Linked DNA regions of Homo sapiens: all the other regions are linked to region 4. The links are contacts of gene promoters, found by promoter capture Hi-C in blood cells and fetal thymus (Javierre and others, 2016). All regions are on one chromosome and are shown on one strand. The core of a region is centred on a gene start or on the middle of the fragment in contact, and the rest is flanking DNA. Distances in the headings are between cores, read along the strand shown. Region 1 overlaps CNPY1 (canopy FGF signaling regulator 1). Region 2 has its middle 33 kb from the start of EN2. Region 3 has its middle 15 kb from the start of EN2. Region 4 holds the start of MNX1-AS2 (MNX1 antisense RNA 2). Region 5 holds the start of BLACE (B cell acute lymphoblastic leukemia expressed). Region 6 overlaps EN2-DT (EN2 divergent transcript). Region 7 overlaps SHH (sonic hedgehog signaling molecule).

Region 1 (3,291 bases), core at 560-3,059, 1.5 Mb after region 4:
GTCGTTGTTACATTGTAATAACAATCTGCGGTACCGTCTTCTGGGCCCGTGCTAGGGAAGTGGCACACGTTTGCATTCAGGGAGAGTGTGGCGTTTCCATGTGGACTCGCCGGAAGGTCTTTGAAGTAACATTAACATTAAGACAAGTTTCCTCGCCCTGTCTTTCTTCTTAGATCCCCCTAGCTCAGTCGGAGGCGTTCCTAACGGATCTTTTGGAGAAAGTCTGTGAGCGAATGAACGACTACAAGCTTGAGGAAGACCCTGTGACGAAGGAGAGAACTTTCAAGAGATTCGCTCCTAGGAAAGGAGACAAAATATACCAAGAATTTAAAAAATTGTATTTTTATTCTGATGCTTACAGACCTTTGAAATTTGCGGTAAGCTCTCTTCCTTGCAGATGAATCGTATGATCCAGAAACGTGTTTTTGGAACTCTTTTTTGTTGTTTTCTACTCTTGTTGTGGTTGAGTTTCAAGACATGGAACATCAAAATGCACATTAAAATGTCATCTGCTGACTTTGTTGTCTTGCTGCTTAAGTGCTCACCATGCGTTTAGTAACTTGACTTTTGAGACACCTAAGGGGTTGTGGCAATTTATGGTGATCAATGGACACGTCTCAGTGATACTTTACGGAAGGTGCTGTGCACAAGTCCCGGGGACTTTAAGACAGTTTTGCAGAACGTTTTGCTTAAACCATTTTGCTCGTGTGGGGACTCCAGAGTGGTCTTAGTCAGTGCTGGTGCAAGGAAGGTCTCTCACAGGTTTCCACATAAGGAATCAGGGGCTGTGGTTTCTAGGTTAAAAGCCAAATTAAAACGAATGCCGCTTTCAAATATCTACAGCCAAATGACAGAGGGAGAGTGATGCAACCACCTCTTTTTTTCTAAGGCTTGACAGAGGAGGGAGAATTGTATCCTGAGTTAATTCGAATATTCTAGCCCAAACTAAGTTAAACAAAGGCTTAGGTATGATAGTTAGCCTGATGCCAAATTTCCTTCCAGTGTAATGTTGATTTTTTGTGAATGCTAGTCTCTGGCTTGCTAGAATATGCTTGGCAAAATACGTTGCAATATTTTTCACTTTAGTCAATGCTGTTGAATCAGACAAAGTGATGGGCAGTCCTGTTTTAAAAAATGTATTAAGTTCACACATTGGCCAAAATACCAGGCCTGCTGAAACCTTGAAATAAGGGCTTTAGCCGATTTTTAAAGATTTTATTTTAACTAGAAAGTAAAGGCAATAATCAGGGTTAAAAGTACTACAGAATAAGAATGACAATGAATACGTGTGTTTGTATTTCACAGGTTTTAAATAGGCACATTAGAGTCGAATTTAAATCTTTTAAAATGCCATTAAACATTTTTAGAGTCTTGCTTAATGAACTCAGAAAATGATTTACAAGTCTCTGGTGAATACCACTAGGTAACTTCACAGCTCCCGAAAGTATAACCTGGTAGTTCCTTAACAAAGAAACATACTTCAGTTAGAATTTAAGATTTTCAAATGCAGGGGTGTATTTGAGCACCCTCTTCTCTGAAAGGTCAGGTATTTTTTTTTAAGTGAAGTGAAATGTTGGATGGATCTCTAAACAGCATGAAAAGACACCTCCCGAAGTAACTGTCAAGGGTGTTCTCCACAGTGAAATTGAAGATGCGTTTGTTTTGATTGCTGAGAAGGCTTAATTGTTTTCACACTTTCAAGCCACAAAATGGATTATTATGTTAAATCACAAGGAAACTGGTTTAATCATTTCGGGGAGCTGTGGTCTTCTTTTTTTTTTTTTTTTTTTTTTTTTTTTAGTTTAAAAACCGTTGGACTTTTCAGCTCCTTCGATAGGAGGTCCATTTCTTCCTATGACTTCCAGTCCGATTTAAGGAAGCGAAACATGCAAAGAGATGTTCCTTCCTCAGGCTCCCATGTCTTCCAACACAACTCATCATTTACTTAAGCCCCAGGAAAATGATGCAATTAACATTCTGGGAAGAGGGTTAATCCAATGCAATGATGTATTAAACCAAAAGGGCGAATAAAAATGGACCACCTTGGTTACATGATTTCCTATGTTTAGCTAATAAATTGTTGCAAAGTCCTTCCTAACAAAGTGCCCCGCCAGTGTGCGTCTATCCACATATGTTGTTATTATGTTTCTACAGTGTGAAACTATAATAGAAGAGTATGAAGATGAAATATCCTCACTTATCGCCCAGGAGACACACTATCTAGCTGACAAGCTGTGCAGTGAAAAATCAGGTACTGTGTCTGATGTAACATGTGCTCGCTGCTCGCACACCCTCTCTCTCTCACTCAGCCTTGCAGCGTCTTGTTTGCAGACCGAGCCTCGCTGCCTCTGCGATCCACGGCTCTGACACAGGATCCCCCGTCTCCGCTGAATCAGAAACGACAGCATGTGAGAGAAAACAGATAAACAGAAACCACAGGGCTGTGTGGCCTTCCTCTTTGTACTTTCTTTCCTCTATATATTAAGTGAATTCAAACATTCTTGATTTCCAGTTAAGGAGAAAATTCTTGTTCAGAATTAGAAGACTCCAAAGCACTTTCTTTTTAAAAACTTTGAGAGAGAGGATTTTTCCATCCTGGACCAGGGAAGGAGACCCTCACTTCATGGCTTGAGTATCTGCTACAGCAGCAGAAGGTGCGATTTTTATTTTGTAAGAACTTTCTAAAGTTTTTTTGTTTGTTTGTTTGTTTGTTTGTTTGGGGGGATGCTGGATTTTTTTCCAGGTTCCATTCCTGTATCTACTTCTTAAAAAAAATTTTTTTCTGGCTCAGAGGGTGGAAAATAATAGTTAATTCTTAAGCATATACACACACTCAGAAGCTGGAAAAAATGAGCAGAATTTTATTTATAATATACAAAGTTGAAAGCGATGGTCACTGACTCTCCGCTCTGTTGGCTGTACGTAGACCTTCTAGTCCCCTAACTTGGATGCTTGTTTAATACATTTATAAGAATGGAGTACACAGTTGTGCATTCTTTTGGATATCTTTGGGAAGAAATGAGTGAGTAGATATGAAGACAATGATTTAAAGCCAGTGGGGTACTTTTAAACAATGTGGAAGTTTGAGACAATTAGCATTCAGCAGTTGTTTACAATAAAGTATATAATACACCTACATCCATTATATCAAATGTAGTGCCAAAGTCCTTAAAATAACAGCTACTGAACATTTGTAGATAAATATTCATGTCATCAAAAGTTATTAAACAAGAAGTACACAAATCTCCCATTAACAGAACAGGTAAAGTTTTGTTTTTTTTGTTTTTGGTT
Region 2 (3,317 bases), core at 167-2,666, 1.5 Mb after region 4:
GTGCTCATTTTTGGTCACATGATAAAATTAGTGACAAGACTGTTTGAAGAAATCCTTCAGACCAACATCCACACTTAAAAGAAATGGACATGTATACATTAAGTTAGTTGTAAGCTCCACTTATTGTATTTTGATGGCAAAGGGGACCATGACCGTTGGATCCTCAGGTGCCAAAATAGTTCACAAAATAAAGTGCTCTGAAGGAAGTGGTCTTCCCAAATACAGATTGATTTCATAGACTTCTAGAAATGTATACCAAATAGAATGGAACAGTCTGTGGTTATTTCCTCATTTAACTAATAATCTGAATGAAAGGATGGGCAACGTGACTCTTCACTCTGTCATAAGTCAAAAGTATAATTTCCCATACAGATTTCTTTTCCATGACTACCAAGCTTATTGCATGATACCACAGAGTCATCTTTCCATAATAAAGACGTCCTAACCCATTTACAGGGAACCTTCCCAGGAGGAAGCAAACTCTTCCTCTCTGCCATTTCCGGACTGGTTTCCTCTCTCCGTCCCCTGACTTTTATCTCAGCTGTGTTTCTTTTTGCCTACCCCTTGTCCCCGGAGTCTCAGCCATGGATAACCCTGCTGCGCGGAGGCGGTTGAGAGAGGCCGCTGTGAGCTTGAGTGTGGACATTTGTCACGTACAGAGATGGCACCCAGAATGCCTGGGGTGGTCCCCGCGCCTTCAGCCCCCCACTTCACCAGGTCCCTCTCCTCTCTGCCCCGAGCCTCCTCCTCCTTCCTGCTTCCTGCTCTGCTTGTCTCTTCCCTCTTGGATTAACCCTTCCCCCCTCTCAGCATTTTCCTTTCTCCTTCCATGTTTTTTTTTAATCCCAGTATTCAAGTACATCTGGGTATTTCCAAAGCAAGCCGGGTGGGGCCAGGGAAGGAGCTGCCCACGGAGACCTAGTGTGGTGAGGACACTGCTTCAGGCCGAAGGGATGGCCCTGGGCTGTGTGCTGGACCCCTTGGCTTCAGTTTCTGTAGAAACCCGGTAAAATCTAGGGTTCGTGGGGCGGTTTCTGAGTTCCTTTGATTACTCCACGATTCCATGAACTCCCAGCGCCCACTCCGACGTGCTGGGGCGGTGGCCATCTCTCGCCCTCCCCTCTCCAGCCTGGGTCTTGTTTCTCCGCCTCAGCCCCGGAGGTCTGTCTGTCCACCTGTTTCCCACCCCGTCTCTCCCTCCCTGTCGGGTTCCTGCACCCTGGTCCCGGGAGCCCCTCTGCCGCCCCGCCCTGGCCCTCCTGCGGTCGCGACACCCGCTGCGGCCGCACCCTTCCTGCGCCTGGTCGCCTGGTAGCTGCGTCTATGTCGCTGATGCTCTTCGCTCTAATGGCCTTTGTTGGATCGTCTCCTTCTTTTCCCCTTTTGTTTCTGTGGGGTTCTCTAGACTGTTTGCTCATTTCAAAAAAAAAAAAAAATCCATCTTCCGCGTTACCCCATTCTCTCCTGCCCTAGCGAGTCCTACAAGCGTGTTTCCTGTAGGCCGAGCCGGATGCCTGAGGCCAACCATGGCAACAGCCAGGGCGCGGGGGGTGGAGCCCGGAGCCGGCCAGGGCAGCTCATCCAAGCCTCGGCTTCCCCTTCTCACGGAGGGAGGGCCGGACGGAGCAGCCCAGGACTCCCAGGGGATGAAAGAACATTCCAGAAACCCAGCCCCTGTGGCAGGCCTTTAGGCAGCCCCGGCTTGCTGGGTGCTGCAGGGGGGCAGAGGGGAGTTTCCGGTTCCTGGAGAAATCGCTCCTTGCTCCTTAGTGACACTTGCTGCTAATATTAATTGTAAGTGTGTGAAGACAGCACCAGCAGAGAAACCAAACAACCTCCTGTAGCAGTCCTGGTGTAGAGGAAGAATTTCAGCCTCGCCCGAGGCCCGGTCTATTCCTGTGAGGACTTCTTCCCTGGTTCTTTTCCTTCTGAAGCCGTAGCCTTCTCGGATTTGCCTGCAAGGGCTACCCTGGAACAGTTGAGGAGCCTCATTGTCCCCCATCCCTGCGGGCACGGGGGCAGGACACTCCCTAGCCCAGGCTCCTGATTAGAAATGTAAAAGAGTTTCTCCTGCGGGAGCAGATGCCCCGCCACTTCCTGAGAGGTCCCTCCTTTTCTCTTAAAGACGCAGGGCACACAGAAGACGCAGCCATGCGTGCAGCTGGGCGGGCCATTCAGCGCCCTGCCCTTCCTGGGCTCTGCAGTGGCCGGGGCGGCCGCGTTCAGCCTCTGCTTCTGGTAGCTTCTGAAGCATGAAGGCCTGGGCAGCGGTGCTCAGGACAGTCCTCCCTGGGCGGGGCGAGGCCGGGAGCTGGGCCCCTGTCCCCCCGGTTCTGCGTCCCCGGTTCCCTCCTGTGATGGGAGGCTGTGACTGAGGGAGCCTCCCCTCGGCGGTGTGAAAGTGACCACGCTCTGCTGTCCTTCCAGGGAAGCTTGATGGTCCCAGCCGGTGCCGCTCCCTGGTGTATGGGATGGGGTGCCTGGATGCTGCCTCTCTCCCACTGCCTGGCAAGGTGGACACAGCCTGGGCCCAAAGAGAACAGACACAGAGCCGCCCGAGGGGCCAGCCTGCCCCACCGGCACTGGGCACAGATCTGTTCCACAGCTCTGGCTTCCATGGCTCTGCGTGTGTCTGTGGTTGCCCTCATGCCCAGTGCAGGTCCTCACCCTTCTGTCCCAGCCTCAAAGTGGCGGCCTCCCTCCCACCTGCCCTTCCACCTGCTGCCAGAGAAGTCTCTAGAAGCAGGCCTGCGATCACATCTCCCTGCACACCACCACTGACTCTCAATGCACCCGAATGAGTCTGGGCCTCCACGTTGTCCCTCCAGCTTTGCCTTTGTGTACCTGGCATCACTGGGCAACAGCATGATTCTGCCCCTCCCCGGGCAGTGCCTACAGTTGCCCCTTCCTGGCCTTACCAGCTCCGGTCCCAATCCACACAAGACTTGTCTACCCATGGAGTCCAGGCCCCTGCTCGTGGGGGCCTACCCTGGAGGGGCAGGACGGGGCGGCATCCCGAGGGTCGGCCTCAAGAGCATCCCCGGGAGGCTGAGACCTGGCTGAAGTGGGGAGGTGGGCACCCAGTTTCCCTGAGGCTTCCCAGCAGGAGAGTGTGTGCGCGGTGGGGGGGTCTCACTCCCAGACCCCTATGCTCCTGACTCTGGAAGATCAGTTGTACCTGCCCCGCCCAGCACAGTGCCTTGCCTATCACGAGGGAAACTCAGCGCTGAAGTCCCCGTGGAGGCTGGAGCCTAAGCGTCTCCACTTGTAAGAAGGATGGAAGTCACAGCTGCCTCACAGAGCTGTGGTGAGGGGTT
Region 3 (3,394 bases), core at 360-2,859, 1.5 Mb after region 4:
CGTAAGAACGGTCACTGCCTTTGACTGAGCATTTATTCTGTGCCGGGCTTGTTACGTGTCTAAGTTCAACAGTCCTCTGAGGCAGATTAATTCCCCCATCTAGCATAGAGGAAACCAAGGCACAGCAGGTAAGGAGCGGTGGCAGGCTGCGTGGTGTCTCCCTCTGGCCTGCTGGTTCCAGAGCCCTGAGGGTGGCATCAGGCTGCTGCAGAGCCTCAGATCTCCAGGAGAGAGGAGGAGGGAGCCGGGACTTACAGGGAACTGAAACAACCAAAGGATAGCACATACGAGTTCATTATTTGCTATGTCTGCAGTTGGAAAATCACAGCCAGCCCTGGCAGACACTTACTGAGTGCTCACTGTACACCAGGCGGGATCCCAGTGCCCATGGGCACTCTCTCATGTGATTGTCACTGCAGGCTTTCAAGTTAATTCTATTATCTGCAGGTTTCAGATGAGGAAACCAAGGCCCAGAGAGGAAAAGGCACAGCAGGCATGACACCAGTGCCATCGGTGTTTGCTTCACCCTTGCAGATTACGAGGCAAGTTCACATGCATGTCGTCGGTGCTGGGGGACAGCGTCTCCCTGGGGACACACACATGCAGTCTGGCCAGGCCTAAACCAAGTCAGGATTATGTTGCTGGTGATGTAAACCAGCCAAGGTCGCGGAGAGCAATGCCACACAGCAAATAAGAGCTCACACAGCCCCACACACCCTGGCCAGCCCGGATAGCTTCCCTTCCCTGACCTCAGTCCTCTCCCCCGTAAAACGGTGTTAAGACCAGTAGCCACCTGGTGGGGTGCATTATGAGAGTGACTGAAGATAACCCACATACAATGGTGAGTATTGGCTGTCCTGGGTAGAACAGTGTACTCCCACATTAATGTCCTGGGAATATGTGAACGGAACCTTATTTGGAAATAGGGCCATACAGATGTGATCAGAGGAGGTCACACAGAATTAAGGGGGGCCCAAATCTAATGTAACTGGTGTCCTTATAAGCAAAGGGAAATTTGGGTACAGACACAGGGCAGAAGGCCGTGTGACAGCAAAGACAGAGATTGGAGTGAGGGGTTGCCAGCCTTCACAAAAAGCCAGGAAGAGGCGAGAAGGGTCTCCCCTGCAGCCTTCAGAGAGAGCCCAGCTGACACCTTGATTTTGGCCTTCTAGCCTCCAGGACTCGGAGAATAGACTTCTGTCGTGTGAACCTCTCAGTGTGTGCTACTGTTACGGCCGCCCTCAGAAACTCCTACACTGAGACCTAGTAGGAACTCAATCAACATTGGGTGTTATTATTATTTGAGACAGGAAGAGACATTACACCAATGCCTGGGAAATGTGACTTCCAGAACACGAACTGCAACGGAAGTGCTAGAGTGTGCACTAAGCTGGCTACAGCTAAAGGGCAGAACACTGAAGGGATTAGGAGAAACACGAATATGGGAGACACTTCCCTTCTAGGGTCTTTGTCCAGCTTTTCTTCCCGGGAATTTGGAAACTCACCGTTTATCAATTGTGTGCTTACAGTAGTGACAGTGTGTCTGCTTCCCACACAGACAAAAATATGGCAGGGATGGACATTCCCGAGTCCTGGAAACCAGGGACAGTCAGGGGTGGGTGGATTCCTCCCAACCTTCCAAGCTCTCTGTGGGGGAGGGGGATACTGCTGCCAGCTGCCCCTCCCCTCGGGCTGCCAGTTGCCTGGCCTGCCTGGGGGACTGTGTGTGCGCGCATAGCCTCCTGCACCCGCCCCCCCTGCTGAGGCCAGGGAGCCGGAAGGGCACAGACAGGCTTTGGAATGCAGGGCTGTGCAGCACACTTTAGTGGGAGTCAGGTTTTCTGCCTGAGGCAGAGGGAATTCTAACACACGCTAGAGCAGAAAGACAGAAATTGCCTTTTAGACGCGGCTGCCATCAGCAATATTTAGCAGGCAGGCTCTGCAGGGCCGTTTAACCTTCTGTAACCTTACAGTTAAGTGCTGGCTCGCTGGCTGGCTCGCTCTCTCTCTCTCTCTCTCTCTCTCTCTCTCTCTCTCTCACACACACACACACACACACACACATTCCTCTGTGCAGATATATCCGTGGTTCTGCTTAATATTTTACCACAGTGGTTTTATTTCAAGGGGAGCTCTACAGGCTGACATTTCTTCTTCTATGTGTGCCCAATATTTTACATGTACACACACGCAGAAACTTGCATATTCATATCTTCCAGGAATCGACACTTAAAGAGGGAGGAACCTGAGAGCTTCTTGCTCATCAGAGCAATGCCAAATGTACAGTTGGAGCTTGGCAAATAATTAATAGTAATGAAAATTGACATTGCAAAAATTAAAGTGAGAGGGCTGACAGAAAGGAATTGGTTTGGTTGTCAAACCACAAGCCTAAAGGGAAACAGATTGCTTTGGAGAATCTTTTAATTAATTTTTGAGTTTCCCTGTTTCTTCTCTGCTGCGTGAGCAGAGTTCCTTCCTCGGCCATCAGGATGCTCTACAGAAGGGGACAGGTCGGAGAAGGATGGATGGTGTTAGGGATGCTCCCATCTTGGAAGCCTCTGGAATTCCCCAGTCCCCAGTAAGGAGAGCTCAAGGTGGGGGTGACACAGCCCAAAGAGGGGTTCGTTTTGTAAATTTACTTTTATTACCGATGAATAAACCAAGAGGTCTAGCTCATTCATAGCTAAAATAAAAATGGATCTCTACAGTCTGACCAAGTTCAGCCACTGAGCTGCAGCATTAACTTGTATTCTAACAAGATTAAAATATATTTGTCCTGGGGATTAGCATACTTAAGTCCCCTTTTGCCTTTTTAGCGGTGGCAGGGCACTTTGATCTGCCTTGCGTGGCAAGAGCGCGGCTTGGGCCCAGCGATCCGACTGCCGAGTGTGAAATCAGCCTGATGTCATCCCATTCTTCAGCTTTTACATCTTTCCCCAGTTTAATTATATTTCCGCCACAAAGCTCCCGCGTCTCATTGCATATTCAAGTTTGACTAGGAAGCATTTAAAAAACAGTGTGGATGAAATACCCTTGTGGGGGGAAGGGATGGGGTGGGTTGGCTGGGGGGGGCTGCAAATCTTCATGGAGCGAAAGCAGCGAGCCCCAACACCCGCATCACCCCATGGATGGCCTCACCTGCGTGGAAATGTGTCCAACTTCCGCCTGCCCCACCCGCTAGGCGCCCAGCTCCCCCCGACGGCGCCAGGCACAAAGGCCATTGTCACGCCGGGCGTTTAGGTATGGGGGCTGTTTTGCCTTGTGACTCCAGCGGGTTTGTATGACATTCTTCCTCTGACGTGCTGTTTTTGTTTCCTTGGGGCTCTGAATCCACAGGGCGCGTTCCCGTCTCTACATATAAAAGATGTTTTTCTCTCTGCGAGTGATGAGTCAC
Region 4 (3,331 bases), core at 449-2,948:
CGGAATGTGTTCTGAGAAGTCCTCCTCGCTGGTCCGGGGAAAACCTGTTTGGTTTCTTTAATTGGTTGTCTCTGCCTGTTGGATGGCATTTCCCAAATGGTCCCTCCGGAGCCAGTGGTTTAATTAAAGTTCTAATGTATTGTCAAGTTGGGAATTCGGGGCCTTGTTTGACTAAAGCAGGGGGCGTGGGCCATCCTCTAAAGCAAACTGCCCATCCCGGGGGACCTGAGCTCATCCAGGCCTGGGGCTGGCCTCCTTTCTTTCCTTTGCTTTCTTTCTTTTATTGTCCAACACTTGTCAGGCTCCTGGGAAATCAAGGGAAGTCTCGTTTTGAGGTCATAAAATTCTCTGTGATGTAACCGTGCGAAATTATGTAAATAAAGCCGGGCAGGCCTCCTTGAACACACAGAGAACCGGATCCTGCCTGCGCCTCTGCCTGTAATTTGCGTAATGAGAATTGTCCTGAAAAGGCTTCTAGTCTCCTCAGGCCTTGCCCCTGCCGCCCGCACCCTGAGGAGGGGGCATGCCAAGGAAAACATTTGGAAGGTGGGAGGGTCCCTGGTGAATACACAGACTTGGACCCTGGGTTTGGTCCTGTTCCACCTGTCCTCTCTCCCTTCCCTTCCTCCCTTCCTTCCTTCCTTCCTTCCTTCTTTCCTTCTTTCCTTCCTCCCTCCCTCTTTCCCTCTCTCCCTTCCTTCCTTCCTCTTTTTCTCCTCCTCCTCCTCCTTTTCTGTCTTAAGGAGGCAGTGCAGGGAGACCTGGAACAGCAGGACCAGCTCTTCCCAGACCTGTTTGGATCTGAGCCTGAATCTCTAGGAAGGCGCAGTGAGGAGAGGGGGAGAGATTTGGTTCTCATCACTCACTGCTCCTTTATTTTATTATTTTATTATTTTTTATTTATTGAGAGATGGGGTCTTGCTGTGTCACCCAGGGTACAGTGCAGGGGTGCAGTCTCGCTCACTGCAGCCTTCAACTCCTGGGCTTCCCGGAACCTCCCTTCCTGGCCCCCGACTGGCCTCAGTTCTCCTCTTGCCTCTGGGTCAATCCACTGCTACCAAAGCCGGCTCCTGTGGAGAGGAAGCCTCCTGCGATGGGCCCTGTTTAACAGGGACACTCAGACGTCTCCTAGACAAAAAAAAAAAAAAAAATTGGTCTCATTAACTCCAAACTATCCATTTCCACTTGGTGGTCCTGAGTCCGCATTCCTTGGGGAGTGGGCACTGATAGTGAGGGAACAGCCCCGCCCTCTGCAGGGCCAGGCCTTGGCGCTGGGGCCTTGAGTGTAGTGGTACAAGCAGCAACGGGAGGGGCTGGGGCGAGGACCGGAGCCGGCTGTGGGCCTCACTGCCCTTTGGTCCCCAGCCCAGGCGCAGTCGAACCTCCTGGGGAAGTGCCGCCGGCCGCGCACCGCCTTCACCAGCCAGCAGCTGCTGGAGCTGGAGCACCAGTTCAAGCTCAACAAGTACCTGTCGCGGCCCAAGCGCTTCGAGGTGGCCACCTCGCTCATGCTCACCGAGACCCAGGTGCGCGCCCTCCCCGCCCCCGACGCATCCCGGCCTCCCAGGGGACACTGTTACCTTTGCACTTGTGACCCACGGGCGGTCTGAGGCATCTAGCGCTGCGCCTCGACGGTTCAGACGGCGGGCGCACGGGTTCATCTAAGGTGCCCAGAGCGCCGATTCAGTAGCTTCGGGTGGGGCCCAAGAATCAGCACTTAACCACCCCTCCTTTCATTCTGAAGAAGGTGATCCCCAGGCCGCATTCGAGAAATTTTGTTCCAGAAAGAGAGGAGGGAACATCCTGAGATTTACCGCGACGTAGCCAGCTGCCCTGACCCTTCCTCCGCAGACGGAGGGCGCGGGTAGAAAAGTCCCCGGCCTGGGTCGTTGGGGACATAGTCCTAGCTCCCACGGAGCTCCAGCCCAGCTCTGGGGTTTGCTGCTGAGTGGGGGGTTGCGGGGAGGAGGAAGCTACGAGCCCCCTCCCCATTCTGCTTCTAAGTCGTCTCACCCTGAGGCCATTCCAGGGCCGACCCAATGGGGCCCAGGCGCACGCGGCCGGGGGACTCCGGGGACAGGAAGCCCTGGGGTGGCGGTGGCCGGTTTCTCACGCCCGCTTGTGCCCGCAGGTGAAGATTTGGTTCCAGAACCGGCGGATGAAATGGAAACGCAGCAAAAAGGCCAAAGAGCAGGCGGCGCAGGAAGCGGAGAAACAGAAGGGCGGCGGCGGGGGCGCGGGGAAGGGCGGCGCGGAGGAGCCGGGAGCCGAGGAGCTGCTGGGGCCGCCAGCGCCCGGAGACAAGGGCAGCGGACGCCGCCTGCGGGACTTGAGGGACAGTGACCCCGAGGAGGACGAGGACGAGGACGACGAGGACCATTTCCCCTACAGCAACGGCGCCAGCGTCCACGCCGCCTCCTCCGACTGCTCCTCGGAGGACGACTCGCCGCCCCCGCGGCCCAGCCACCAGCCCGCGCCCCAGTAGGAGCCCCGCGGCCCAGCAGGTGCGGCGCGCACGGAGCGCCCCGGCCGGCGGCTTCTCCCGGAGGCCCCGGCGCCCGCACCCACCCGGCCCGGCCCCGAGAGCAGGCTCGACCGCCGCCCCATGGACCCCTCGCCCAGGCCGGGGCTGGAGGGATTCGGCCGCGGCTCCGGTCCTGGGCGCTTCCCTTTTAAGCAAGGGCGCCTCACCTGCTCTTCAAGAAACAGCGAGAGGGAGACCCAGGGGGCTGAAACTTGAACTCTGGTTCTTTTAAAATTAATTTTGGTTGGTGTTGGGGGAGGCGCGAGTGCGTGTGAGAAGAACCGACCCACCCCGCGCAAGGGGAAGCCTCCTGTCTCCCCTTTCCCCGCGTCCGAGAAGGCGGAAACCCACAGTGTTACCTGACTTATGAAACTTGAAACCGCCTCTGGAGCCGCCATTCTGCAGAGTATTTGGAAAAAGAAAAAAGGGTTTATGCTTACGTCTCTGGGGTCGGGGGGATTATGTCACGAGCGTTCAAACTGCTGGAAATCTCAAAACTGTACTGTCTTTATTTTTGTATATTGTATTTATATATAAAAAGAAACGTCTACGTATGCATGCTAAATTATTATTTAGCTTCTCCCATCGCCCACGATGGAATGTAAAATAAATTGGTTTTGTACTGGATCAGCGTGCACGAGTTTTGGGGGATTATGCCCGCGGCATTACAATTTGCTTGTAGAAATGATGGGGAGGGTGTCTACTCGGCGGTTGGCAGCTGAGGGTGAAAATCGGAGTCTCAAGTGGGTGTCAGGACCACCTCCGCGCCTGCTACTGGGGAGTCGCAATGTGAAGTGTTGGCAAAAA
Region 5 (3,297 bases), core at 100-2,599, 1.6 Mb after region 4:
CTGAAAGACCCCTCTTGACACACCTTAGGGGCTTCAGGGCCACACTGCCTGGCACAGCTGGTTCCCAGTGTGGACCTGTCTCCACTGCCAGCCCCTGCCCCACCCTCTCCACCTGAGTCCTGATCCCTGGTGACCAAGAGAGGCTGTGCTGCTTCTGGCCTTCACAGTAAGCCAGATGGCCTGGGAAGCGAGACTCTCTCTGCCTCCCAGCACTCCAGGCTGCAGTTGCTGTTTCATCATCCATGGGTGTAAAACACCAAGCAAGTGACATGATACAGAATGACCTCCCTGTGCTGGCAGTGGCACCACAGAAACAGGAAGACTCAGAGCCAGAAGCTGCCTGCGCAGATTGCCATTATGGAGCCTGGGAAATCAAGTCCTAGAAAGATTATCTGTTTTTTTTTTTTTTTTTGAGATAGGAGCTTGCTCTGTCGCCCAGGCTGGAGTGCAGTGGTGTGATCACTGCTCACTGCAGCCTCTGCCTTCTGGGCTCAAGCAATCCTCTAGCTTCATCCTCCCAAGTAGCTGGGACTACAGGCATGCGCCGCCATGCTTGGCTAATTTTTTAAACTTCTTGTAGAGACAAGGTCTCACTATGTTGCCCTGGTTGGTCTTGAACTCCTTGGCTCCAGTGATCCGCCTGCCTCCAGTGATCCTCCCACCTCGGCCTCCCAAAGTGCTGGGATTACAGGCATGAGCCACTGTACCTGTCCTAGAAAGATTAAAGGATACCTCTACGTCTACCTCTACCTCTACCTCTACCTCTACCTCTACCTCTACCTCTACCTCTAACCTCTAACCTCTAACCTCTAACCTCTACCTCTACCTCTACCTCTACCTCTCCCCACGGTCTCCTTCCACGGTCTCCCTCTGATGCCGAGCCGAAGCTGGACTGTACTGCTGCGATCTCGGCTCACTGCAACCTCCCTGCCTGATTCTCCTGCCTCAGCCTGCCGAGTGCCTGTGATTGCAGGCACGCGCCGCCACGCCTGACTGGTTTTCGTTTTTTTTTGGTGGAGACGGGGTTTCGCTGTGTTGGCCGGGCTGGTCTCCAGCTCCTAACCGCGAGTGATCCGCCAGCCTCGGCCTTCCGAGGTGCTGGGATTGCAGACGGAGTCTCGTTCACTCAGTGCTCAATGGTGCCCAGGCTGGAGTGCAGCGGCGTGATCTCGGCTCACTACAACCTACACCTCCCAGCCGCCTGCCTTGGCCTCCCAAAGAGCCGAGATTGCAGCCTCTGCCCGGCCGCCACCCCGTCTGGAAAGTGAGGAGCGTCTCTGCCTGGCCGCCCATCGTCTGAGAGGTGGGGAGCACCTCTGCCTGGCAACCACCCCGTCTGAGAAGTGAGGAGCCCCTCCGTCCAGCAGCCACCCCGTCTGGGAAGTGAGGAGCGTCTCCGCCCGGCAGCCACCCCGTCCGGGGGGGAGGTGGGGGGGGTCAGCCCCCCGCCCGGCCAGCCGCCCCGTCCGGGAGGTGAGGGGCTCCTCTGCCCGGCCGCCCCTACTGGGAAGTGAGGAGCCCCTCTGCCCGGCCAGTCGCCCCGTCCAGGAGGGAGGTGGGGGGGTCAGCCCCCCGCCCGGCCAGCCACCCAGTCCGGGAGGGGGGAGGGGGGTCAGCCCCCTGCCCGGCCAGCCGCCCCGTCCGGGAGGGAGGTGGGGGGATCAGCCCCCCGCCTGGCCAGCCGCCCCGTCCGGGAGGTGAGGGGCGCCTCTACCCGGCCGCCCCTACTGGGAAGTGAGGACTCCTCTGCCCGGCCAGCCGCCCCGTCCGGGAGGGAGGTGGGGGGTCAGCCCCCCGCCCGGCCAGCCGCCCCGTCCGGGAGGGAGGTGGGGGGATCAGCCCCCCGCCTGGCCAGCCGCCCCGTCCGGGAGGTGAGGGGCGCCTCTGCCCGGCTGCCCCTACTGGGAAGTGAGGAGCCCCTCTGCCCGGCCAGCCGCCTCGTCCGGGAGGGAGGTGGGGGGTCAGCCCCCCGCCCGGCCAGCCGCCCCGTCCGGGAGGGAGGTGGGGGGATCAGCCCCCCGCCCGGCCAGCCACCCCGTCCGGGAGGTGAGGGGCGCCTCTGCCCGGCCGCCCCTACTGGGAAGTGAGGAGCCCCTCTGCCCGGCCAGCCGCCCCGTCCGGGAGGGAGGTGGGGGGTCAGCCCCCCGCCCGGCCAGCCGCCCCGTCCGGGAGGGAGGTGGGGGGATCAGCCCCCCGCCCGGCCAGCCGCCCCGTCCGGGAGGTGAGGGGCGCCTCTGCCCGGCCGCCCCTACTGGGAAGTGAGGAGCCCCTCTGCCCGGCCAGCCGCCCCGTCCGGGAGGGAGGTGGGGGGGTCAGCCCCCCGCCCGGCCAGCCGCCCCGTCCGGGAGGTGAGGGGCGCCTCTGCCCGGCCGCCCCTACTGGGAAGTGAGGAGCCCCTCTGCCCGGCCAGCCGCCCCGTCCGGGAGGGAGGTGGGGGGGTCAGCCCCCCGCCCGGCCAGCCGCCCCGTCCGGGAGGTGAGGGGCGCCTCTGCCCGGCCGCCCCTACTGGGAAGTGAGGAGCCCCTCTGCCCGGCCAGCCGCCCCGTCCGGGAGGGAGGTGGCGGGGGTCAGCCCCCCGCCCGGCCAGCCGCCCCGTCCGGGAGGTGAGGGGCGCTTCTGCCCGGCCGCCCCTACTGGGAAGTGAGGAGCCCCTCTGCCCGGCCACGACCCCGTCTGGGAGGTGTGCCCAGCGGCTCATTGGGGATGGGCCATGATGACAATGGCGGCTTTGTGGAATAGAAAGGCGGGAAGGGTGGGGAAAAAATTGAGAAATCGGATGGTTGCCGGGTCTGTGTGGATAGAAGTAGACATGGGAGACTTTTCATTTTGTTCTGTACTAAGAAAAATTCTTCTGCCTTGGGATCCTGTTGATCTATGACCTTACCCCCAACCCCATGCTCTCTGAAACATGTGCTGTGTCCACTCAGGGTTAAATGGATTAAGGGCGGTGCAAGATGTGCTTTGTTAAACAGATGCTTGAAGGCAGCATGCTCGTTAAGAGTCATCACCACTCCCTAATCTTAAGTACCCAGGGACACAAACACTGCGGAAGGCCACAGGGTCCTCTGCCTAGGAAAACCAGAGACCTTTGTTCACTTGTTTATCTGCTGACCTTCCCTCCACTATTGTCCTATGACCCTGCCAAATCCCCTTCTGCAAGAAACACCCAAGAATGATCAATAAAAAAAAAAAAAAAAAAAAAAAGAAGAGTTCCAAAAAATTTAACAGCATTTCCAGCAATGATTATTTCTGAAATAAAAAGATATGAAACATAATTTATACAAAACTAAAAAAAAA
Region 6 (3,201 bases), core at 467-2,966, 1.6 Mb after region 4:
CCAGTCCTGCTAAAGGGACTGGCACACAGTAACATGAAGCCAGTGCTCCCAGACTTTTTGGTCACAGGACTGCTTTATGCTCTTAGAAATTTACTGAGCCCCCCAAAGAGCTTTTGTATATAGCAACGGATAGATTTAGATGTCTATCCGGTGATTTGCGCAGTATGATGAAATGGTAATGTTTTAAATATATTGATTAATTGATTCATTTACAATGACAATAAAAACCCACTTCATGTTTACTTAACATATTTTAATGAACACTTATTCTATTCCCCCAAACAAAAAAAAATTAGTCTGGAGAGTGGTGTACATGTTTGCACCCCTCTTTAATATCTGGCTTAATAGAAGATAGTTGGATTCTCATTTTTGTTTGTGCAATCCATTATTTTGGTTCAAGTATATGAAGAAAATGCAACCTGTCACAGATATGCAGTTGAAAACTGGAGGAGTATTTTATTAGCCTTGGCAGATAATTGTGAACATTTTTCCTTGATATTACCCCCAAATTCAACAAATGGTGGTTTCTTAAAGGTTGGTTGCAATGTGGAATCTGAAACCATGTCAATGAACATTTCATACTCTATTACATTAAAATCCATTTATCTGTCTTGCACTTTGAATGGCTCTTTTGCCCACAAAATATTTCCTTCCTTCCTTCCTTCCTCCTCCCTCCCTCCCTCCCTCCCTCCCTCCCTCCCTCCCTCCCTCCTTCCCCTTTTCCTTCCCCTTCCCCTTCCCTTCCCTTCCCTTTCTTTTTGACAGAGTCTCTCTCTGTCACCCAGGCTAGAGTGCAGTGATACAATCTCTGCTCACTGCAACCTTGCTTCCTGGGTTCAAGTGATTCTCCTGCCTCAGCCTCCCCAGAAGCTGGGATTACAGGTGCATGCCACCACACCCAGTTAATTTTTTGTATTTTTAGTAGAGATGGGGTTTCACCATGTTGGCCAGGCTGGTTTCAAACTCCTGACCTCAAGTAACCCACCTGCCTCAGCCTGCAAAATATTTCATGCCACTGTATATTGGTCATTTGGAAAATATTGGTTCACTGAGTTATGCAGGTCTTCCAAATGTCGAACTATTTCCTTAAACAGTATCACAAAATCACATTTGTTAATATCACCACTAATCTTATTGGAAAACTCTTTAAATTTGGGAGGTTGTCTGACTCATGATGTTGGATACAAGTTTTCAAGAATTTTAATTTTCACTTAAAAACTCACATTTTACCTTTAGTGGTAAATACTACTTTCCTCAACACGACAGGGTAGTTTCATTTATTTTTGCAAAGGTGTCTGTCAAAGACCTAAGTCTCAATAACCATGATTTGTCTGTTGGGTGCCGTTCCATGTAAAATGAGGCTCCATGAAAAAGCGGGCTCAGTCAGCTCATGGCTGTAGCCCGCCCGTCCTTTTCCTCGATGGCCGCTGTTCTTCTGTATGACAGCTCCCCCTTTCTTCACCCAGAATATTGAAAAGACATGTGCTCCAGAGCTGAGCTTTAATAAAACTATTTTTTTTTCACTGTTTCTTCAAGAACATTCTTAAGTAAAACCTGCATTTGAAAAAAAAAAAAAAACCTGTGAGTGTGTGGCTGTGAAGAGCACAATGTCTGCTACCAATGGCCAATAACAACCTTTAATGGCCTTCATCCATGTGGAGCTGGACTCACTGGTTTAACGGCCTTCATCCATGTGGAGCTGGACTCACTGGTTTAACGGCCTTCATCCATGTGGAGCTGGGCTCACTGGTTTAACGGCCTTCATCCCTGTGGAGCTGGGCTCACTGGTTCAACGGCCTTCATCCACGTGGAGCTGGGCTCACTGGTTTAACGGCCTTCATCCCTGTGGAGCTGGACTCACTGGTTCAACGGCCTTCATCCATGTGGAGCTGGACTCACTGGTTTAATGGACTTCATCCATGTGGAGCTGGACTCACTGGTTTAACGGCCTTCATCCATGTGGAGTTGGACTCAGTGGTTTAACGGCCTTCATCCATGTGGAGCTAGACTCACTTTTTTTTTTTTTTTTTGCACATCAATGCTGATGTCTACATGCAACAAAGCTACATAATGACTCACAGTGTAACTGTAAAAAAAAGTTTGGAGGTTGTCTTAGGGAACCCCAGGATCTGCACTAAATGAGATTTCATAAATGAATGAATGACTTTTCCTACACAATCACGTATGGTGGATCCTAGATGTCCACAGTTTCTCATCTAAAGCTCTGGGCCACAGACACGTTTCAGAATTTCTTTGATTTTGGACAGGTCAGGTGGTGCACATATCATGTGCCACCTAACCCCGTGGGGTGTGAGCAGGGCCCTATCTAACACAGTCATAGTTCTGTGGTAAATACAGGAAAAGCTGAACCAGCAGGTAACAGCCACAAGGAGCCTATGTCTGTTCAAGTCAGGTTCTGCTGTCCAAGGAGTTAGGAAGACACCCTCCCATTTTGAAAGCATTTGGATTTTGGAGTTGTAGACCAGGGGTTGTGGGCCTATCTCCTGATCTCCACTCCACAAGGGTACCTCGGGGAACAGACGGCCAAGGTCTCCTGGCGGGTGAAGGAGCTGGGAATGGAGCACCCAGGGCCTGTTGAGCTTCCACTCTGTCATCTCCCCTCCCCTCCCCGCCCCGTGACCTCAACCACATGGCCCTCCTAACACGAAGGCTTCCAAGGCCTTTCCTGCCCGGCCCTGGGATTCCTTTCCCCTTCTCCAGCCTTGTGTCCTCCACACACTCTGAACTGTGGCCATGCAGGGCCACTCTGCGTGGTCCTCTGATATTCCAGCATAATCTCTCTGATCATTCTGGACTCTGGGCCTTGTCTCTCTAGGGCTATAGCACCTATTGGTGCCTCTCAGCTTACCTGACCTCCCTGGGATACACTTCTTTTTTAATTTAGTTTTTAATATTTATGGGTACATAGTAGGTGTATATATTTGTGGGGTGTGAGACGTTTTGATTCAGGAACATGTGCAGTAATTACATCATGGAAGATAAGAGTATCTATTCCTTCAAGCATTTACCCTCTGTGTTACCAACAATCCAATTATACCCTTTTAGTTATTCTTAAATGTACAATGAAATTATTATTGACTATAGTCACTCCTTTGTGCTATCAAATAGTAGATCTTATTCATTCTTTCTAATGACTTTTTTGTACCCATTAGCTATCTCCACTTCCCTATTGCTGAAGGA
Region 7 (3,296 bases), core at 537-3,036, 1.2 Mb after region 4:
CTCCGCCCGCATAAATTGGCACGTTTAGCAAAGCCGTTCACGGTGAATTTCGGGGAAACTCTGCCTTCCTCAACCCCCTTCCAGGCTTCCCTACTTGTCTCCTAAATTCCATGTTAATGGCACTATGTTAGTAGGAAAACACTGTTAAGGTGTCAAGGCACACTTGTAGGTAAAGGCTAGAGTGGCTTCTCGTCCCCACAGAAAGCAAAGGCGTGGAGCGGGGGCGGCAGGGGCGGGTGTGCGGCCCGGAGAGCTCCCGGCTGCAGGCAGGCAGGAGGCGGCGCCCCCACCTCGCGGGCTCGGCGGCGGCCCCTGGGCCCAGGGCGCCCCCTGCGCAAAACCTCCTCCCCGGCTCCCTGCCCGCGGGGTCCCCCTAGCGGGGGTCTCCGGAGGCCTCCTCCCAAGTGAGCAGCGCTAATCCATCCCCCGGATCGCGCCGGGAGAGCGGAGCCGCGGCGCGGGAGCCGCTCATTGGCATTCTGAGCACACGGGCGGGGGCGCGGGGCGCAGCGTGTCAAGCCGGGCCGTGCGACTCGACGACTCGGGCTCGCCAGCGCCCGGGGTCGCATTCCGGGGGGCTACGGAGGGCCTCCAACGGCCAGCCCCGCACTTCATGCCAGAGAAACCGATGAGAAGATTAAAAGCCCCCTGTAATTCCAGCAGGAAGATTCTTTCTGGCAATCTCTATTTGCAAAAAGCATGATCCCGGAGATTGGAATGCAAAGAAGACGGCCCTCCCCGCCCTCCTCCCCGGCCCCCTGCGCTCCGCCCCAACTTCAATTATTGTCCTGGGGACAGTGAGCCTCAGAGAGCGACAGAGGGCTCGAGAAAGCGGGTAGTCAAGGGGCCTTGAGACCCGGCGCTTCCAGCGCTCCGAACAGGCCCCGCCATTTAAAATTCAAATACACATCTTGAGTGCTTGGAAGAGAGGCCTGGCTGTGCAAATAGTGCTTGTGAATTGCACACGGGGTGGGGGGGGGTTGCACCTGAGCAAATAGGGAGGGGGAGGCCCGCGAGCTGGGGAGAGAGTGAGCTGAGAACAGGGAGGGGAGAAAATGGAAGTGTCCCCTTCCAAGAGTGTCTCCTGTTTATCCCAGAAATCACAATGACAATGCTGGGCCCTTTATTGGATTTTAATTAGAAAATCCACACAAGCCTCGGATTTTCACACCTCGGCCAATCTCTGGAATGTTTGTCCAGTTGCTACAACTACTGCAGCTATTTTTCACTCCCCGCCCCCGCCCCTCCGCAGGCCCACGCCGAGGCGCGGCAGGGTGCTGCGGGCAGGCGGGCAGGCGGGCAGGCGGGCCAGGGGTTTCCGCCGCGCAGCCCGGGTGCTGAGTGCGCGAGCAGGCGCCGCGCCCCGCGCCGGGGCGGGAGGGAAGGAGGGTGCGCCCGGCGCCCGCGGGAGCTCAAGGAGGCTTCCTGAGGAATCCAAGTGCAGAGCAAACACCCTCTGGATGGATTCGCGGCGAGGCCGGGTGTGTGCGGAGCTGGGGGTGGGGTTGGAGGAAGGCGGAAGGAAAGAGTGTCACCGGCCTCTGCAGGAAACGCCAGCCAACCTCTGTGACCGCCAGCCCAGACTTAGAGAGTCGTTAAGGAATGTGTCGGAATCCTGTCCCTGGGGCAGTGGGGTTGGGGGAGGGAGGTGTGTGCGGGACCCGCCTGGAATCAATCGCCCCGCCCCGCGCCTTGCGCACCCCTGGCCTAGGAGCGCGGGCACCAAGCGTGCGCCCTCCTCCCCGAGACGCGCCTCCCTCTCGGAACTCAATGCCCTGTCCTCTCTTCTTTCCCTTCTCCTCACCCGCAGAGAACTCGGTGGCGGCCAAATCGGGAGGCTGCTTCCCGGGCTCGGCCACGGTGCACCTGGAGCAGGGCGGCACCAAGCTGGTGAAGGACCTGAGCCCCGGGGACCGCGTGCTGGCGGCGGACGACCAGGGCCGGCTGCTCTACAGCGACTTCCTCACTTTCCTGGACCGCGACGACGGCGCCAAGAAGGTCTTCTACGTGATCGAGACGCGGGAGCCGCGCGAGCGCCTGCTGCTCACCGCCGCGCACCTGCTCTTTGTGGCGCCGCACAACGACTCGGCCACCGGGGAGCCCGAGGCGTCCTCGGGCTCGGGGCCGCCTTCCGGGGGCGCACTGGGGCCTCGGGCGCTGTTCGCCAGCCGCGTGCGCCCGGGCCAGCGCGTGTACGTGGTGGCCGAGCGTGACGGGGACCGCCGGCTCCTGCCCGCCGCTGTGCACAGCGTGACCCTAAGCGAGGAGGCCGCGGGCGCCTACGCGCCGCTCACGGCCCAGGGCACCATTCTCATCAACCGGGTGCTGGCCTCGTGCTACGCGGTCATCGAGGAGCACAGCTGGGCGCACCGGGCCTTCGCGCCCTTCCGCCTGGCGCACGCGCTCCTGGCTGCACTGGCGCCCGCGCGCACGGACCGCGGCGGGGACAGCGGCGGCGGGGACCGCGGGGGCGGCGGCGGCAGAGTAGCCCTAACCGCTCCAGGTGCTGCCGACGCTCCGGGTGCGGGGGCCACCGCGGGCATCCACTGGTACTCGCAGCTGCTCTACCAAATAGGCACCTGGCTCCTGGACAGCGAGGCCCTGCACCCGCTGGGCATGGCGGTCAAGTCCAGCTGAAGCCGGGGGGCCGGGGGAGGGGCGCGGGAGGGGGCGGGGCGGGGCAGCAACAGCAACGCAAAGCAAAAAGACACTCGGAAAAGGCGCACGAACCAGACTGAGTTATAATAAGAATAAGAATAATAAAGTAGGACAGTCCAAAGTAGACTCTAAGGAAACAAGGACCCCGGGAAGTTTTGTTGTTGTGCTTAGTTGATATATATTTTTTGAATTTTTTTGGTTATTGTTTTATTTTGGTTATTTTTTCCTCCTCTCCTGGCTATTTATTTGTTTGGTATGAATAGATGTTTTAAATAATATGAACCGGACCTTCAAGAGCCTTAAATAGTTTGTTTCTTGGATAATTTATTATGATCATGTGAACTGTACTCACGGGGGAAAGATTATTTTGTGAGGCCAAGCAACCTGCTCAGAGTCTATTTTTCTACATGTCCCTCGTCCCGGCTGTCAGAAAGCAAACCTCTGTCCCCGCCATCCCTCCCTTCCATCTCCTGCTTCTCAGCAAGTGCAAACTCAAACGTGCTTCATGGGGGTCCACAAATTATATTTTTATACACAGAATTGTAAATTAGATTTTTTGAGAGATCAATACTTAACTGAATTACATTTCATTTTTGAAATAGTGTAAAATATGAAAATATATTATTTTAATTTAACTA

What was found. Contacts are between HindIII fragments. The CHiCAGO score rates a contact against its expected background, and 5 or more counts as called.
Region 1: a contact is called between a fragment that was not itself captured here and the fragment with the promoter of MNX1-AS2 in region 4, in 2 of 17 cell types (total B cells and naive B cells). The highest score is 32.9, in total B cells.
Region 2: a fragment that was not itself captured here is called in contact with the fragment with the promoter of MNX1-AS2 in region 4 in 1 of 17 cell types (total B cells); the score reaches 7.0 in total B cells.
Region 3: a contact is called between a fragment that was not itself captured here and the fragment with the promoter of MNX1-AS2 in region 4, in 2 of 17 cell types (naive B cells and total B cells). The highest score is 18.4, in naive B cells.
Region 5: a contact is called between the fragment with the promoter of BLACE here and the fragment with the promoter of MNX1-AS2 in region 4, in 2 of 17 cell types (total B cells and naive B cells). The highest score is 12.3, in total B cells.
Region 6: a contact is called between a fragment that was not itself captured here and the fragment with the promoter of MNX1-AS2 in region 4, in 2 of 17 cell types (naive B cells and total B cells). The highest score is 12.8, in naive B cells.
Region 7: a fragment that was not itself captured here is called in contact with the fragment with the promoter of MNX1-AS2 in region 4 in 2 of 17 cell types (total B cells and naive B cells); the score reaches 10.9 in total B cells.

Annotation. Positions count from the first base shown.
Region 1 is chr7:155,505,980-155,509,270 of GRCh38, reverse strand. It overlaps CNPY1 (canopy FGF signaling regulator 1), which reads left to right. Exons shown (of 5, transcript NM_001393663.1): 3 at 174-377; 4 at 2,155-2,251. Among named protein-coding and RNA genes, the nearest start is that of CNPY1, 39 kb to the left of the region's middle. RefSeq lists an enhancer at 1-443 and a silencer at 2,305-2,354. The HindIII fragment of the contact is 3,118 bases long and covers 251-3,291 here.
Region 2 is chr7:155,489,349-155,492,665 of GRCh38, reverse strand. No RefSeq gene overlaps it. Among named protein-coding and RNA genes, the nearest start is that of EN2, 33 kb to the right of the region's middle. RefSeq lists a silencer at 1,178-1,247 and an enhancer at 2,047-2,780. The HindIII fragment of the contact is 2,037 bases long and covers 398-2,434 here.
Region 3 is chr7:155,471,354-155,474,747 of GRCh38, reverse strand. No RefSeq gene overlaps it. Among named protein-coding and RNA genes, the nearest start is that of EN2, 15 kb to the right of the region's middle. RefSeq lists enhancers at 1,634-3,394, 2,590-3,394. The HindIII fragment of the contact is 7,565 bases long and covers 1-3,394 here.
Region 4 is chr7:157,004,674-157,008,004 of GRCh38, reverse strand. MNX1-AS2 (MNX1 antisense RNA 2) reads right to left here and starts at 1,698. Exons shown (of 2, transcript NR_147077.1): 1 at 1,581-1,698; 2 at 885-1,128. MNX1 (motor neuron and pancreas homeobox 1) reads left to right here. Exons shown (of 3, transcript NM_005515.4): 2 at 1,366-1,526; 3 at 2,132-3,151. The coding sequence ends at 2,485. RefSeq lists a silencer at 2,109-2,303 and an enhancer at 2,072-2,724. The HindIII fragment of the contact is 8,591 bases long and covers 1-3,331 here.
Region 5 is chr7:155,365,985-155,369,281 of GRCh38, reverse strand. It overlaps BLACE (B cell acute lymphoblastic leukemia expressed), which reads left to right and starts at 1,349. Exons shown (of 6, transcript NR_103545.1): 1 at 1,349-1,473. The region is part of intron 2 of LOC105375593 (a long non-coding RNA gene); the gene reads right to left. The HindIII fragment of the contact is 7,901 bases long and covers 1-3,297 here.
Region 6 is chr7:155,444,393-155,447,593 of GRCh38, reverse strand. The region is part of intron 2 of EN2-DT (EN2 divergent transcript); the gene reads left to right. Among named protein-coding and RNA genes, the nearest start is that of EN2-DT, 11 kb to the left of the region's middle. The HindIII fragment of the contact is 4,257 bases long and covers 1-3,201 here.
Region 7 is chr7:155,802,241-155,805,536 of GRCh38, reverse strand. SHH (sonic hedgehog signaling molecule) reads left to right here. Exons shown (of 3, transcript NM_000193.4): 3 at 1,811-3,296. The coding sequence ends at 2,637. Among named protein-coding and RNA genes, the nearest start is that of SHH, 8.6 kb to the left of the region's middle. RefSeq lists an enhancer at 1-371 and a silencer at 278-457. The HindIII fragment of the contact is 9,246 bases long and covers 1-3,296 here.